Regions from separate parts of the Homo sapiens genome. Here all the other regions are linked to region 2. Evidence: promoter capture Hi-C in human tissues and cell types (Jung and others, 2019). All regions are on one chromosome and are shown on one strand. The core of a region is centred on a gene start or on the middle of the fragment in contact, and the rest is flanking DNA. Distances in the headings are between cores, read along the strand shown.

Region 1 (3,463 bases), core at 780-3,279, 830 kb after region 2:
CCGGCCTGGGCGACAGAGAGAGACTCCGTCTCAAAAATAAAATAAAATAAAAAAATATATATAATTCATTTCAGTAGTAAAAGACATAAACAAAAAGCTATAAGTATACACTACGTTACAGCTTTTGTTGAGGAATGCAATAAACATACATATCACTTCCCTGTATAATCTCAATGGCCTTTGGGAGAGAATTTAGAAAAGCATCCCAGTCGCTGAATGGTTGAGTTTAGGGGAAAAACTGACCCAGCACAGCCCCCTCATCTCCTGGATGAGGTTACTGCGGTTCCGCAAGGTGAATCGAGGTCAGTCGCCAAGGCAGAACCGGATTCGCCAGATTCCCTAGTCTCAGTGGAGCTTTAACCCTCCCAGGCACAGGACCGCTGGAGAGGTCGCCACGGGCCGGTTTCCCAGCCGGCCGCGAGGGGGCGACAGAGTGCAATGGACCCAGGTGAGTCGGGGACCAGGCGCCGCCAGGTCGTGACGCCACAAGGTGAGGGAGGTCTTTGATGGAGGGAGATACAGGAGAAAAGGCGCCGAGCTTAGGAAGTCTGTTCGTACTGTCCTCCCCGATTCCAGTCTGGCTCCCACTGCTATCTTCCTCCCACTGCTGGACCCTTCTAAAACAAAAGCCTGACTTTGCTACCATCCGTAAAACTGTAACGACACCTCCAACGTTGCTTACAGGGAAAAAAAAAAAAAAGGGCAGCAAAACATGGGACCTGGGTGATCTTGCCCCAGCCTAATTCCAAGATATCTCCTGCAAATAGATATCTATTTGCAGATATCTGGGAGCCGTATTGAAATACTTCCAACTCCCTGGACTCATCCTACTTTTTTTTTTTTTTTTTTTTTTGAGACTGAGTCTCGCTATGCCGCCCAGGCTGGAGTGCAGTGACGCAATCTCGGCTCACTGCAACCTTCACCTCCCGGGTTCAAGCGATTCTTCTGCCTCAGCCTTCTAAGTAGCTGGCACTAAAGGCGCGCCCAGATAATTTTTTTTTTTTTTTTTTTTTAGTAGAGACGGGGTTTCACCGTGTTAGGATGGTTTCGATCTCCTGACCTCGTGATCCGCCCTCCTCGGCCTTCATCCTACTTTTTCTCCCTGAATATCTTTTCGCACCAGCTCTACGTGGAGAAATCCGACTGTCTTTGAGCGAAGTACAGTATCACTTTCTCTTGAAACCTCCCCTGACACGACCCCTCCCCTGACACGACCCCTCCCCTGACAACACCCCCACCCACCCCACCCCAGTTTGGGGGAGGAGCCCCCTCCTTTGTTCCCACTACCCCGTGGGCTTCCCCTATCACACTGTAATAAATATCTGGCCTTGTCTATCTCCTTCTGTGCCCATCACAGAGCAAAGCAAATACAAAGAGTTCATTAAACGTTGGCTGGATGAATGGAGGAGACGGCACAGGGTTCAAGCTCTGCTACTTGTGCGGCCTCAGGCCGACTAATTATCTGGTGGGTTTGTTGTAAGGAGTCAGAACTAAATGGATTAATTACAAATAGTGCTTAGGACAATGCCCAGAATACTGTAAGCACTCAAGAAACTGATTTATTTTCGTCATTTTCACAGCGGCCAAGGTACATGAGGATGTAGCTTATCGCCCTTTTAAGGGACTCTCCCACGTTCGACTCTAAGCGGAAGTACCCGCTCAGGGCTCCGGAAGTGGCCTCAGAGCCCCTCAGCAACATGCCCGCAGAGAATTCTTCCGGAGGCGGTCACAGACATCTCCGTGACGCAGAACGAGTTAGAGCGTCCCTTGGGGTTTCCATGGTGCTGCCCTTAGCCTGCAGTATCTCCACTTCCTCTCCCGCCTGAGCGCCGGGAACGGAAAAGCAGGCGGCCGGTCCCAGCTGCGACGTAGACGCCGCGTGGGGGTGGGGTTGGGCGAGTAGGTGACGCTCTAGGCGAGCTCGTTGGCCTCTCTATGGTGCCGAGCGCGCCCGTTCGGACGTTGCCCCTTTAATCGGCAGAGGGCGGTGCCCAGGAGGTCCCGCGAGAGCTGCGGGGGGCGGGGGGGCGGTGCCGAGGCTGGGGGCCGGTGGCGGATGGAGCCCGCGATGGAGCCGGAGACTCTGGAGGCGCGAATCAGTGAGTGTCCGGGAGGGGCGCGGGCCGGACCGGAACCGGAACCGGGGGCACGAGGCGGGCCCCTTCCCGGCGGGGGCGGGGTACGGGTCGCCCCCTCCTCACGCCCCGCCCCCGGCCCGGGAGGGGCGGTGTCCTCAGTCGGCCCCTCAGACCCTGGAGCGATGGAGGACCCCGGCCCCGGCGCGGTCCAGCGGTGGGAGCGGGCGCCGCCCACCTGTCGGATCCCTGGGCCATGACCCCTGGGACGGCGAGTGAGCTGCGCCGGGAACCCCCGGGACGGAGAGAGCAGCCTCCAACCCCCAAGGCTCACATTGCTTCACGGAGTAGCGGCCCGGGGAAGGAGCACGCGAGCGGTTCCCCGGGGTTGCATCTCACACCCGGGAGGGAGGGACCCTACTATTTTCAGGCCCCGAATCCTCCACTCTCTGGCCCTGCATGGCGTTCCTGGAGCCCGCAAGTAGTCACATTTGCTCATTACCCCGTCCTGGAAGGGAGGACCCACTGCCCCATTTGATTCCTCCCGCCGCTCCTAGTCTCTAGCCACATAGTGAGAAACCCCCGCACCCTACAGGCTTGGGAGAGTCTTAGACTCCAGAAGTATTAATAATTCCAAGCTCCCTGTCACTCCCTTCAGCCTAACCCCTCAGTCTCCAAGATGCCTTTCCCAGCTCTTGCTGAACTTCCTTCAAAGGCTTCTACACCCCTTTTTTTCTTGTTTCTCCTCAGACGTAGCTTCCTATTGCTTAGGCTTCCTAGCCCGCAAACCCTCCACCTGAGCTCCTTAACCCACAGCCCTGATGATCCCCTGCTCTCACAGCCCCGCTCCTGGACTCTGCCTCTGAAAGCCGTGGCTGGCTTCTCCCTGGTCTAGTGAGGGTTCTCTCCCAAGGCTTTAACTGCTGTTGGGACCCCGTCGTTGCCAGGGCCTCAGGGAACCCTCTTGGACCCGGGCACACCGGCAACTGTCTAGCGTGGTTTGGGGTCATGGCCGGCCCCTTTTAAGCCAGGCTTGAGCAGAGTTGAACCATGAGGTTGGCCCCAGAACCAAACCTCTAGGGATGTTTCAGAGTCATCCTAGCCACCAGAGGGGCAGGGGGTGGAAAAGGGGCACTCAGCAGCCCTTGACCGTTGTGAACGCCGGAAGTGTCCGCCTGGGTCTCAGCAGCAACTGGGCTGGGGGGATGGGTGGGCCCCTGGCTAACTGATCTCAGACACAGGTCTTGAGCTGTGGGTCATACAAAACATTCTCAGGTTTAGAAACAGTGGGGGTTTTCTGAGAGTCCAGAGAGTCTAAAACCAGGCAGAAGTTAGAGATACCTGGGTTTGGCTGGGCCCTGACACACTGGGGCTGGGATTTTCTCCTT
Region 2 (3,573 bases), core at 912-3,411:
GAAAACCGAATTTAAAAAGAACCCAGAGAGAAGCCCATTTAAAAAAAAAAGTAACTTCAGAAAATAATGTTCCCACCTTATCCATAAGGAAATTAAAGCTCAAAAAGTGCTTCGTCCAAGATGACACAGCCAATAAGAGGAACAGGCAAAATTACTTTTGTTACACAACACTGCCTCCTCTGGTGCTCTGGAAACTGGAGATTCTCCTGAGAACCATTAATTTATTTTGCTCCAGTATGATTCAGTTACTACTGTCAGTCATCTTTCTGTGTGACCCTTTTATTTTCAAATTATAAAAGCCATTAAAAATATTATCATTTATTCTCAGTCTGGAAGAGGGGAATTTTTTAAAACAGGAATCTCTTTTTCTCTATATAATTTCTCACCACTTCTTTCCTGAGCTGGCCAGGGAAGCCTGGAAAGGTCACAGGTTTCAACAGAAACACGAGTTAAGAGTTTTGGAGTTGGCCAGATCTAGGGGCTGAAATCCTGCATAGGGCCTTCACTAGGGGTTGACCTTGGCTGACATCTCTCAGTGCCTCAGTAAGATCAGAACAATCCAGTACCTGGCCGGGCGCAGTGGCTCATGCCTGTAATCCCAGCACTTTGGGAGGCCGAGGTGGGTGGATCACCTGAAGTCAGGAGTTCGAGACCAGTCTGGCCAACATGGTGAAACCCCAGCTCTATTAAAAATACAAAAAAAAATTAGCCGGGCATGGTGGCTTGCGCCTGTAATCCCAGCTACTTGGGAGGCTGAGGCAGGGGAATTGCTTGAACCAGGGAGGTGGAGGTTGCAGTGAGCCGAGATTGCGCCACTGCCCTCCAGCCTGGGCAACAGCGTGAGACTCCGTCTCAAAAAAAAAAAAAAAAAAGAAAAACAATCCAGTACCTAGCCCAGTGTGCTATGGTGAGACGATTACATGAAATATGTGTGCTTCACATGCAGTAAGCACTCAGTAACATGCATATGTGTTTCGCAGTCTATAATCCAAAATATTGTTTTTCTAAATGTGCAGACTGATACAAGGGGTACACTACAAATGTGCATGCCACATATTCACATATTCATCCATTCTAAAAGTATTTATTGAGTACCTACTATGTTCCAGGCATTGTTCTGGGTGCTTGGGATGTATCAGTCAACAAAACAAAGATTCCTGCCTTTGGGAGACTCAACATTTATGCCCTTCTTGGAGTGGGGCAGCACAGTAACTTTGGGTCTTAAAGACAACACACAAGTGCCTTTTGCAAACTCTGGTCACTACACTCAGGTCACCGTTATCAGAGGGGGTGAGGTCGGGGGAAAAATCCCATAGTAAAGACTACCAAAGTCACTGATGCCTAACTTTGGGGTACAGTATATGTTTAGCTGAAGCACTCAAGGTTTGCTTAAGCTTTGTTTGTTTTGTTTTGTTTTAACAAGTCTGCTTCTCCAGAGTTGTAACTAGTGATTTTTTAACGAGTCACCTCAACTGGTGAAGGTGGTCTCAGAGTATGTGACAGGGAGCAGGGGGAAATCCACTGGAGCTGCGAAGTGCCCTGGAAGATCATTCTTCCACGCCTAACGTAATTTACTGTATCAGTAATTGCAGTAACTCGCCTTTGGGAGAGAGAAAGGAAAAGGTAGGCAATTTAGGTGAACAAAAGCTCTGGATGAATTATGAAGGCTCTGGACTCCAGAGACCACCGTATTCAAGCGCAAGTTTTCAGACTCACCTGCCAGGATGCATTTGGCTGCCAGCTTCACCATGGTAACCAACACTCCCGCGAGCCGTACCCAGAGGACAAGAGCGGCTGCTAGAGACGCGAGTGGGTGGGCTTCGGGCCCTGGGCTGGCCTGGGACGGGAAGGTGGGGAGGGGAGGGCTGATCTCAAGGGTCAGTGGCCGCGACGGGACTGGGGATGACCGAGCCCGGCCCTTCTGGGCCGGGGGCGGATATCGGGCGCTGGGGGCGGGTGGGCAGGGGAGGGCTCCAGGTGGGCCCGGCTCGAGGCCTGACACGGCAGTCTGAAAAGGTGCAAGCGAGCGGACACGGCCTGTGCTCCCCGCCCAGCCCCTCAGCACAGCCCTACCCAGAGGGTTCAAGGAAGGACGATCCGGCTCTCCTCCGATCACAAGTACCGGGCCGGATGCACTCTCCAAGCAACCATAGCCCACCTGCCCCGCCTCCTCCTCCTCCTCGCTGACCCTCGATTGGTTGCCGCCAAAAGCTCCCACCCTCAAGGTCTCACAAAAATCCAATGGGAGTAGAGAGCTGGGATAACAGCCTTTTCTTGAGATGCAATTCGTAGAGTTATCAGTTCTTCAAGTTCAGTCTGCTTGACGAGTGGTTGTAATTGACGTCAACCAGCTTTATATCCCGCCCCCGCTGCGCCTGAGAGTCCCGAGATAAAGAAGCCTCCACGTCAAGCAGTCAGAAGCGGTGACAAGAGAAGCTTTCTGATTGGTCAGAGTCTGGCTTGACCCATCTTCGGGAGGAATAGGGATTCGCCACTCCCGCTGTCCTTCTAGAAGTGGGTTCGCCTACAATGGGGCAGGTTGGGCTCTAGGCGGTCTGGAGCGGCGCCTGCGCAGTGGGCCAGGCCGCCGCTGTAGAGGTCGTTTTGACTTGCTCTGACTTCGCGCGGTTCTCGCGGCTTCCCCGGTTCCCGGGTTCTGCACAGCGCGGCTATTAAAGTGCATGGAGAAGTGCAGTCCTTGCCCCGCATCCCGCAGGGAAATCTCATTTTAAAAGCTCAAAGATGTAATGAGCGTTAAAATCTAAAATATGAAGGTGTTTTATTAAAGTGATGTTTGTGAACAAAGGGAGAACAAATACACTTTGATGGGGCTAAGCGGTGAGACTCGGAAACTTGAAGTCGTACTTTGCTCTTAGTCCATTTACTCTCTGCAAAAGGAGAATGCATCACTAACCTCGTTTGCCCGTCACCCAGGGAGGCTCTCTGTACGCGTTTACTGGGTTGGGGGTGCCTCTTGCACGTGGTTAGGGGGTCAGAGACCTAAATCCCTGGCCTGGACAAGTCACCTCATCCCTCAGCCTCAGGATGGGCCTAGGAGAACCCGCCTTGTGGGGTGGTTGTGGAGATGGAAGGAGAGAAACGTATGAGTGCCTGGGAGATAGTAGGTGCACACGTGATTGTGGGGTGGATGGGAGAGCGGAAGCTTATCTGGACAGATTTGGTTTATCATCACTGTCACTGGTTGGCCGAATGTACCCCTTGTTCTCACTTTCTCAGGGCCCCTGGGATTCTGATGGCTGATGCTGAAGGGAAGAGCAGCCCCTCAGCAAAGGTGCCTGTGCGAAAGTTCCACATTCCCTCCAGACACCTAGAACATTCCACCTCTCCGCCACTCTGCATCTCAGAGTGGCTGCCAGCCTTGTGTGGGGGAATAAACACACACACTCTATGAATGGCTGATGGTTTCAGCCCCGAATCCAGAGTAAATGCAAGTTGTCTGAGATGTTCTTTCCTTGGGATTCATTCCTGGCGCTACGGTAAAGGTCTGTTTCTCCTTCATTTCTCGTAACTGCTTTTCTTCTTTGGTGACATCACGTGAGTCTGTCTCAGACA
Region 3 (3,610 bases), core at 267-2,766, 760 kb after region 2:
GAAAATCAATTTCTGCTATTTCAGCCCCCCAGTCTATAGTAGTTTGTTAAGGAAGCCCAAACTAATACAACCCCCAAAGGTAAATTATATGCAATCATATGGAATAAATGCAAAAATGTCATTATGTGGAAAAAGACAGTAGAGAATTGTATATCGTATGCCACCATTTGCTTTTAAAAAGAAGTGGGGGAATGTGTGTGTGGTGTGTGTGTCTGCATATACTGTGTACATGTACATACATATATACATATATAAATCATCCCAGATCATCTCTGGGAGAATATGGAGGAAACTGCCATCAGTTATTGTTTTTCATTTATTTTTTATTTATTTATTTTATTTTTTTTTTTTTTTTGAGATGGAGTCTCGCTCTGTTGCCTAGGCTGGAGGGCCATGGTGCGATCTTGGCTCACTGTAACCTCCACCTCTCGGGTTCAAGCAATTTTCCCTGCCGCAGCCTCCTGAGGAGCTGGGATTACAGGCACCCCCCACCGCTACCACATCTGGCTAATTTTTGTATTTTTAGTAAGGGTTTCGCCGCATGGCCAGGCTGGTCTCAAACTCCTGACCTCAGGTGATCCGCCTGCCTCAGCCTCCCAAAGTGCTGGGATTACAGGCATGAGCCACGGTGCCAGGCCTTTTTTGTTTGTTTGTTTTAAATAGAGACAGGGTCTCACTATGTTGCCCAGGCTGGTCTCGAAGCCCTGGCCTCAAGTGAACCTCCTGCCTTGGCTTCCCCAAAGTACTGGGATTACAGGCGTGAGCCACTGCGCCCAGCCAGCTGTTGTCTTTTAGAGGGGAACTGGAGGCCTACATAAAGTTGGTTTCGTTTTCTTTTGTTTTTTGAGACAGAGTCTCACTCCATCGCCCAGGCTGAAGTGCAGTGGCACAATCTTGGCTCACTGCAACCTCCACCTCCCCGGTTCAAGCAATTCTCCTGCCTCAGCCTCCCGAGTAGCTGGGATTACAGGCATGCACCACCACAGCCGGCTAATTTTTGTATTTTTAGTAGAGACAGGGTTTCACCATATTGGCCAGGCTGGTCTCAAACTCCTGACCTCAAGTGATCCGCCCACCGTGGCTTCCCAAAGGGCTGGGATTACAGGCGTGAGCCACTGCACTCAGCCCTACGTAAAGTTTTAACCCAGTTAAGTATATTTTTTAAATCACTAAATAGTTCACACATATGCAAATGTTTAGAGAAAAACAATGAACACCAAAATATTCAAAAAGACTAATGTTTGGAAAGTACTCAGAATTGTATTCCCCAAAAATTCATTCCCCCAAGACCCACAGGCCTCAGGGGTCTGCAGGTCTCTCTCAGGGCCAGAGACGGGGAAGGGGCCACCTGGCAAGGGCGGTCCTTGGCACCTTCCCCCCTTTACAGAAGAGGTGTAGAGATGAGGGTCTCACTATGTTGCCCAAGCTGGTCTCGAACTACTGGGCTCAAGCAATCCTCCTGCGTCAGCTTCCCAATAGCAGGACACCCTGAGAAGTCTGAAGGCTCACGCCCAGACCCACGCACAGGTCTAGTTTTGGTCCACAGCATGGCGTGGGTGTGGCTTTGGAGTTGGCGGCAGCTGAAGGCTGGGTGACGTTAGCAAGGTCTCAGCCTCAGTCTCCTTATCTGAAAAACTGGATAGTAATTCCCTCTTTATACTGCGGCCATGAAGAAGAGGGCTGATGTGGGTGGAGTGACTGGTGGGGCAGGCGCTCTGTAAGTGGCTGTCAGCAGGGCAGGGGCTGGGCTCAAGCCTGTGACCACACTGCTCCAAGCTGGACACACGGTGGCGCCCTCGTCCCACAGGTGCAGCACCAGTTCTAGCCTCTGGTGGCATCGGTTACTGGAGGGAGGGAGGGAAGAAGAGAGGAACGGAGTTATATTTGCAAACACACTGCCCACTCTGGGCCCTAGGGGTGGAAAAGTGAATGAGGACCACACAGTTCCTACTCAAGGAGGCTGGATTGGAGGGGCTGGGAGCCCCAAGGAGGAGAGGAACGTGGGAGAGGGCACTGCCTGGGGATTTTGCAGTGGGTTGACTGGTGGCCCCCCTGCAAAAGACACGTCCACCTGGGACCAGGGAATACAGTCTTATTTGAAAAAAGAGTCTTTGCGAATGTAATGAAGATAAGAATCTCGGCCGGGCGCGGTGGCTCACTCCTGTAATCCCAGCACTTTGGGAGGCTGAGGCTGGCGGATCACCTGAGGTCAGGAGCTCAAGACAAGCTTGACCAACACAGCGAAACCCCCTCTCTACTAAAAATATAAATAAAAAATTAGCCAGGCGTAGTGGCGGATGCCTGTAATTCCAGCTACTTGGGAGGCTGAGGCAGGAGAATCGCTTGAACCCGGGAGGAGAGGGTTGCAGTGAGACCAGATTGCACCATTGCACGCCAGCCTGGGTGACAAGAACGAAACTCCATCTTAAAAAAAAAAAAAAGTAAGGATCTCAAGATGAGATCGTCCTGGATTATCCGTGGGGGGCCAAATCCACTGACAAGTGTCCTTACAAGAAGAGAAGATGCTGACACAGAGGGAGCTACACGGAAATGTCGGCAGAGGCAGGAGCGAGGCTGCCATAAGGCAAGGACACCTGGAGCCACCAGAAGCGGGAAGAGGCAAGGAAGGATTCTCCCCTAGCACCTTCAGAGGGAGCGGGGCCCCTCCAACACCTTGATTTCAGACTTCTGGATTCCAGAACTAATCATTTTTGTTTGTTTGTTTTTCAGTGACAGGGTCTTGCTCTATTGCCCAGGCTGGAGTGCAGTGGTGTGATCATAGCTCACTGCAGCCTTGACCTCCTGGGCTCAAGCGATTCTCCCACCTCAGCCTCCCAAGTGGCTGGGACTCCCAGCTCACACCACCATGTCCAGCTAATTTTTTAAAGTTTTTTGTAGAGATGAGGGTCTCACTATGTTGCCCAAGCTGGTCTCGAACTACTGGGCTCAAGCGATCCTCCTGCGTTGGCTTCCCAAAGTGCTGGGATCACAGGCGAGAGCCCTGCACCTGGCGTGGAGAGAATAAATTTTTATTGTTTTAAGCCACCAAGATTGTGGTCATTTGTTACAGCTGCCACAGGAAACTAATAGAGATGTTTAAATTTTCTTCCTGCCACTCGGTTCACTGACTCCCACTCCTAATAGCCTACAGGATTGTGCCCAAGGCCCCAAACTCCTGGCCCCCTACTTCCCCCCAAAACCCAAACTCCACCACACCCACTGCTCTCCAAACACACAGGCTATTTGACACCTCTGCACTCTTGCTTTGGCAGCTCTCTGTCTGGGATGCCCTTCCCTTGCTGATCCCCTGGACGACTACTACAGACATTTCAAAGTCCTCCTTCAACATCCCCTGCTAAGTATATTAGTATCTTCTGAATCAATGGCTTCCAGGACACTCACACTCCTCCATCTCCCTCAGCCCACTGTGTTCCTCGCTCCTTGTTTCATCACCAGCAGCTCAGCTACATGCCCCACCCCCTCCACTAGTCCTCTCCTGGCCTCTCCATCCCCAGAACTAATGCCCTCGTTCAGGAACCCCATCTCCCACCAGGCTTCTTGTGCCTACTCCTAACTGGTCCCTCTGCCCTGGTCTGGCCCCTCCAGTCCA

The links. Contacts are between HindIII fragments. The study calls those that stand out against the background at their distance.
Region 1: the fragment with the promoter of GGA1 here is called in contact with the fragment with the promoter of IFT27 in region 2 in 2 of the 25 tissues and cell types used here (dorsolateral prefrontal cortex and lymphoblastoid cells).
Region 3: a fragment that was not itself captured here is called in contact with the fragment with the promoter of IFT27 in region 2 in 1 of the 25 tissues and cell types used here (dorsolateral prefrontal cortex).

Annotation. Positions count from the first base shown.
Region 1 is chr22:37,606,805-37,610,267 of GRCh38, forward strand. GGA1 (golgi associated, gamma adaptin ear containing, ARF binding protein 1) reads left to right here and starts at 2,030. Exons shown (of 17, transcript NM_013365.5): 1 at 2,030-2,099. The coding sequence starts at 2,057. RefSeq lists a cis regulatory region at 206-665, enhancers at 1,410-1,489, 1,640-1,809, 2,414-3,035, 2,750-2,859 and a silencer at 1,970-2,419. The HindIII fragment of the contact is 29,756 bases long and covers 1-3,463 here.
Region 2 is chr22:36,773,958-36,777,530 of GRCh38, forward strand. It overlaps IFT27 (intraflagellar transport 27), which reads right to left and starts at 2,162. Exons shown (of 7, transcript NM_001177701.3): 1 at 1,717-2,162. The coding sequence starts at 1,750. RefSeq lists silencers at 1,724-1,783, 1,914-1,963 and enhancers at 1,862-2,425, 2,204-2,463, 2,991-3,554. The HindIII fragment of the contact is 3,270 bases long and covers 1-2,799 here.
Region 3 is chr22:37,537,209-37,540,818 of GRCh38, forward strand. No RefSeq gene overlaps it. Among named protein-coding and RNA genes, the nearest start is that of CARD10, 20 kb to the left of the region's middle. RefSeq lists enhancers at 740-949, 1,056-1,557, 1,558-2,057 and a silencer at 1,676-1,865. The HindIII fragment of the contact is 4,240 bases long and covers 1-3,610 here.